2 separate regions of the Homo sapiens genome follow, and region 1 is linked to region 2. The links are contacts of gene promoters, found by promoter capture Hi-C in human tissues and cell types (Jung and others, 2019). All regions are on one chromosome and are shown on one strand. Each heading gives the region's core, a stretch centred on a gene start or on the middle of the fragment in contact. The rest is flanking DNA. Distances are from core to core; before and after follow the strand shown.

Region 1 (2,908 bases), core at 37-2,536, 56 kb before region 2:
CCACCTGGTCAGAGATTTTAAGATGCTTCTCAAATATTTGTGTTTTTTCAGACTGCTGGCTCTGTTTTTGATGTCTCCATAGAGCTTAGGATGTGCCTCCTCCTATCTGTACCCAGAGACTGCTAAGGTAGAAGCCTGACTCTCTAAATGTAACTGAAAGGATTGGGATGATGAATGTGTGTTCCAGTTTCATCTATCTTCGCTGAAGCTGAGCATGGGCATTATGGTCCAAAACTCTTTGCAGTAAGCCAGGGAGATAATCTGTGGCAAATGCTGTGCTCCTGTTCAGGCTGCACCCTCTGATCGTGGGAAATGCTGTGCTCACACTGATGCTGCACCCTCTGATCATAACACCCTCTGCTATAGACAGATAGCTTCTGGAACGAAATTGTTGTAAAACCACTTCTTTGTTTTCTGTAGTTTAGGGCAGCTCAGGAATACAAAGCCCCATTGACTCTCACAGCTAAGTTGTTAAAGAGATAGTCCATTTGGTGAGAGCTATAAAACTTGCAGTACTTGGTCCATAGCCAAACTCCTTCCAGGAAGAATGAGTAAGCCTAGATTTATCATTGGGCAAGCTGGATGGAAGTCTCAAGAAGTGCCAAACCCTTGCTCTGGCTGTCAGAGGGCTCTTGTTTGTTTACCCCATTAACTCCCAAATGCAAGTTCATTAATAGCTAGGCCATCACTTAGCCACAGGAAGAGTGTGCTGTAAGCCCTTTCTGGAGAGAAAATAAGAGCTGCACATTCTTGCTCCTTTTCTGTACTTCTTCAAGGGGGAGTAGCCCCTGGAATTTGTTGCACTCCCATTTAAAACCAACTTTTTTGTTCCATGATCTAGAAAGACTAGAATATGCTTGTCCCCCTGTTCACAGAGCTAAGAAGTTTAAGGAGTCCTTCAGGAGGTAGCTGTCTGACTTGGGGCAACTGATACATGGCATAAACACTTTCTGGGGAAAAATGGGACAGGGTTTTTCTATACCTCTTCTCCTTACTCTTCCTGGGCGATGTAACCCCAGATGTGCTCACATGCCCATATAAAACTGTCACTTTTTTTAACTGTGGTTGGAAGAGACATGCATTCCAGTCTCCTCTACTCCCAGAACTAGGAGGATTAGTTCCCTCAGGTGGAAATTGTAAAAGTTGGGGCACTTGATGTGTGAAATGTGTGAACAAATTCCTTCCAGGTGGAATTAATAGACTTAATTATCACTGCAGTGAGCTGGAGAAGAAAGCTTGAAAAGTGGCTATCTACTTCTCAGGTTAACACTTGTCTGCTTCTTTAACTCCCCAATGCAAGTTAGTTAGAAGCCAGGCCACTAGGTAGCCACTGGAAGAGTGTGTCATAAACCCCTTCCAAGGAAAAAAGAAAAAGAAGCTGCATTTTTATTGTTGTTATTGTTGTTTGCCTTTTTTCTTCCTTTCTTTCTTATTTGTTTTATTTGATCAATTCTGCCTTTGACATTCTTAATTGTATCTTTTTCATTTTATTCATTGCATTTTTCAGGTCTAATATTCTGTTTGATCTTCAAAAATTATATTCAATCTCTCTGTTAACATTTTCTCATACGTTTCTGAATTGATTCTGTATTAGTCTGTTCTCACACTGCTATAAAGGACTGCCAATGACTGGGGAATTTATAAAGAAAGCGATTTAATTGACTCACCATTTTGCATGACTGGGGAGGCCTCAGGAAACTTACAATCATTGTGGAAGGGGAAGTAAACACGTTCTTCCCCTTCCATGGGAAGGGGAAGTGCCAAAAAAAGGATGGCACTTCTGTTGGCAGGAAGGAGAAGTGCCAAACAAAAGGGGGAAAAGTCCCTTATGAAACCATCAGATCTCATGAGAACTCACTCACTATCATGAGACCAGCCTGGAAGTAACCACCCCCATGATCCAATTACCTCCCACTGGGTCCCTCCCTTGACACATGGAGATTATGGGAACTACAATTCAAGATGAGATTTGGGTGGGGACACAGCCAAACCATAGCATTCTGCCCCGGCCCCTCCCAAATCTCATGTCCTCACATTTCAAAACACAATTATGCCATTCCAGTAGTCCCCCAACATCTTGATTTATTCTAGCATTAACCCAAAAGTCCAAGTCCGAAGTTTCATCTGAGACAAATTAAGTCCCTTCCACCTATCAGCCTGTAAAATCAAAAGCAACTTAGTTACTTCCTAGATACAATGGGGGTACAGGTATTGGGTAAATACACCCATTGGAAATGGGATGAGTTGGCCAAAACAAAGGGGCTACAGGCTCCATGCAAGTCCAAGATCCAATGAGGCAGTAATTAAATCTTCAAATTCCAAAATAATCTCTTTTGACTCCATGTCTCACATCCAGGTCACGCTGATGCAAAAGGTGAGCTCCACAGCCTTGGGCAGCTCTGTCCCTGTGGCTTTGCAGGGTACAGCCCCCCTCCAGGCTTCTTTCATGGGCTGGCATTGTCTGTGGCTTCTCAAGGTGCACATTGCAAGCTGTCAGTGGATCTACCATTCTGGGGTCTGCAGGATGGTGGCCCTCTTCTCACAGCTCCATTAGGCAGTGACCCAGTGGGGACTCTGTGTGGGGACTCTGATCTCATATTTCCCTTCCACACTGCCCTAGCAGAGGTTCTCCATGATGGCCCTGCTCCTGAAGCAAACTTCTGCCTGGACATCCAGACATTTCCATACATCCTCTGAAATCTAGGCAAAGGTTCCCAAATCTCAATTCTTGAGTTCTGTGCACCCACAGGCTCAACACCACAAGGAAGCTCCCCAGGCTTGGAGCTTGCACCCTCTGAAGCCATGGCCTGAGCTGTATCTTGGCCCCTTTTAGCCATGGCCAGGATGCAGGGCACCAAGTCCCAAGACTGCACAAAGAAGCAAGCCCTGGACCCAGCCTATAAAACCA
Region 2 (2,989 bases), core at 407-2,906:
ATCATAATATTTTAGATTTAATAAAATATATCACTAAAAATACAGTTGATCCTGAAACAACACGAGTTTGAACTGCTAGTGTCCACTTACATGCAGATTTTTTTCCAATAAATACATTGGAAAATTTTTGGAGATTTGTGACAATTTGAAAAAACTTACAGATGAACCATGTAGACTAGAAATATCAAAAGCCTTAAGAATAAGTTAGATATGTCGTGAATGCCTAAGATATATGTAGATACTATTTATGTGTCAATCGACTGTTTATATTATTGGTAAGGTTTCTGGCGAACAGTAAGTTATTACTAGTTAAGTTTCAGGGGAGTCAAAAGTTATATTCTAATTTTCTAGGCATGGAGGAGTGGTTTCCCTAACCCCCACTGTTTAAGGGGTAACTGTAATTTCGCCTGTTTTTTACTTCTTTAAAATGTTGCAATCAGAAATGTAAAAGGACATATGTGGGCCGGACGCGGTGGCTCATGCCTGTAATCTCAGCATTTTGTGAGGCCAAGGCAGGTGGATCATTTGAGGCCAGGAGTTCAAGACCAGCCTGGCCAACATGGTGAAACCCCTTCTGTACTAAAAATACAAAAATTAGCTGGGCATGGTGGTGCATGCCTGTAATCCCAGCTACTCAGGAGGCTGAGGCAGGAGAATCGCTTGAACCCAGGAGGCGGAGGTTGCAGTGAGCCAAGATTGTGCCACTGCACTCCAGCCTGCAACAGAGTGAGTGAGACTCTATCTCAAAAAATCAAAAATAAAATAAAATAAAATTATATATGTGGCTCACATTATAGGTGTTGGACTGTGCTGGCCTAGAGGACTCAGAAGTCAGCCATGGGACCTCCGGCAAGTCACCACACCTCTCAAAGCAGTTCTTATCTGTGAGATAGGAATAATAGTAGCACTTACCCCACAGATAAATTTGCAGTTTGAGTGAGATTGAGGTCTGTGCTTGACCCAAGGTAAGTACTCAATAAACGTTGGTAATTATCATTATTATTAATAACAATATGTGCAAAGGCTCATATCCAGGCCCTAGTCTCCAGGAGCCTCTCCCCAACCAGGCACACAGCAGCCACACAACAGGTACATGTGTGGGGATTTCACAACCTCTACAAAGCTCTTTGGCACATGTTCTCTGCCCTCACAACCCACTTGGCAGGTGGGAATCAGGAACCCGTGGGCAGGTAAGGACACTGCGCCTCAGGGGTAAAATGATCGTTTCAAGCTTCACAACTCACCTAGGAAGAACCTGGGGCTCCAAGGGAGATGAGGCCACCTTCTACAGCTCCCTAACTCAGATGCCCACGGTCTGAGAAAATGACTGGAGCTCACCCCTAAAATGGGCGACATAAGATCCTGGCCCTGTCAAGTGTGTGTGCCAGGAATAACTGAGATCAATCACTTGCAGCAGCTGAAGTACCCTGGCACATACTAAACACTCAATTAAGTAAATCATGATTACTGTTGTTCCTTTGCCAGAGAAGCTTCTGCTGAAATCCCTCTCTACGGGGAATCCTCACGCCCTAAATGACCCCTCCTTCCCGGCCCGTAACTCCGGAGGATGCCCCTGCAGGTAGGCCCAGTCTCCAGACACCACCACCCCCCAGCCGAGTCAGGAATAGAAACCGCCGCCTCCGGCCGCCAGCGGCCTCACTCCCTCCTCCGGCAGCGATCGATGCGGCCTTCAGCCGCGGGGGACTAGGCAAGGAAGAAGGAAGGAGAGGGCAGCGGGGCCGCCTGCAGCAGGAGGCTCGGCGGGGCCGGCGGGGCAGAGGCGAGACCGAGTATAGCCAGCGGCTCCCAGCCTCGGTGGCTTTGGGACAGACACGCGAGGCGCCCGGGAGGTGCCACCACAGGTAAGGGGCCTCCTTTGGGGAGGGACGTGGCTCCGGGACGGTCCCGGGCAGCCAGAGTGGGAGGCGGGGCTGCCTGGGGCTCCTGGTGCTCTTACCCCCTCTAAGAGACCCCCCACCCCCCGCCAAGGAGGAAGCAGTGTGGGGTGGCCGCGCTTTGGAGACCCTGGCTGGTACAGTTTGCTCATCTGTAAAATGGGATTAGAAAACCTCCCTGGCAGGGTTGGTGTAGGGATTAAACCGAGTGAGGTGTGCATGGAGCCCAGAGGAGTGACTAGCAGATAGGAGGTGCTCAAAATAAGTGTGTGGAGAGAGAATGAAATAAAAAAACCTGGTCTCCAACCTTAGCTGTGCCATGGACTAGCTGGGTGATTTTGAACAAGTCACTTGGTCTTTCTTACTGATATTCAGGTTCTTGTCAGAAAATGTTTGTTGAATTAATTATCCTGTTTCATAGAGCAGGAAAGTGAGCTCCTGATGGATGAAGGGATTTGCCCAATATTATGCTTCTAATGGGTGATGGAACTGGATTAGAAATTTCATTTTTTGATGCCAAATGCAGGTGGAGATCCAAGTGGAGGTGGGAGCGGAGCTACATCACACGTTTATTGTGCATTGATTATGTGCCAGGGACCATGCTGCCGATAAACACCTTGCATCATTTAATTCTCTGAGCCTCTCCTGGAAAGTATGATGCTACCCGGTTCCACAGACAGGGAAACAAGCCCAGAGAGGGCGACGAATGCACTCAAGGACAGCAGCTAGTAAGTGGTAGACTCAGGTCTGACCACAGGGAAGTACACAGGATTAACATTTATTGAGCATCTACTGTTTTCCCAGGGCTTTGACATATACCACAATAATGATGCATCCAAAGCAACATTATCCCCATTCTAGAGGTAAAAGAGCTAAAGCCCAGAGTGGGAAGGAGACTGGCCTGAGGTCACACAAGTGATAGAGCTAAGGGTGGAACCCCAAATCCATTTAATGCCAAGCCCAGGTGCTTTACACACACTTAATCCCTAGTCTAGGCATTACTGAACCCACAGTGCAAATGAGATTGCCAGTGGTGAGGAGGTGTCACTAGCCCCCAATTCCAGCAGAGTCAGGAGTCAGTGGGTAGTGGAAGA

Evidence for each region. Contacts are between HindIII fragments. The study calls those that stand out against the background at their distance.
Region 1: a contact is called between a fragment that was not itself captured here and the fragment with the promoter of KCNS1 in region 2, in 1 of the 25 tissues and cell types used here (spleen).

What each region holds. Positions count from the first base shown.
Region 1 is chr20:45,155,794-45,158,701 of GRCh38, reverse strand. No RefSeq gene overlaps it. Among named protein-coding and RNA genes, the nearest start is that of PI3, 18 kb to the left of the region's middle. The HindIII fragment of the contact is 6,370 bases long and covers 1-2,908 here.
Region 2 is chr20:45,099,794-45,102,782 of GRCh38, reverse strand. It overlaps KCNS1 (potassium voltage-gated channel modifier subfamily S member 1), which reads left to right and starts at 1,656. Exons shown (of 4, transcript NM_001322799.2): 1 at 1,656-1,862. The HindIII fragment of the contact is 6,202 bases long and covers 1-2,989 here.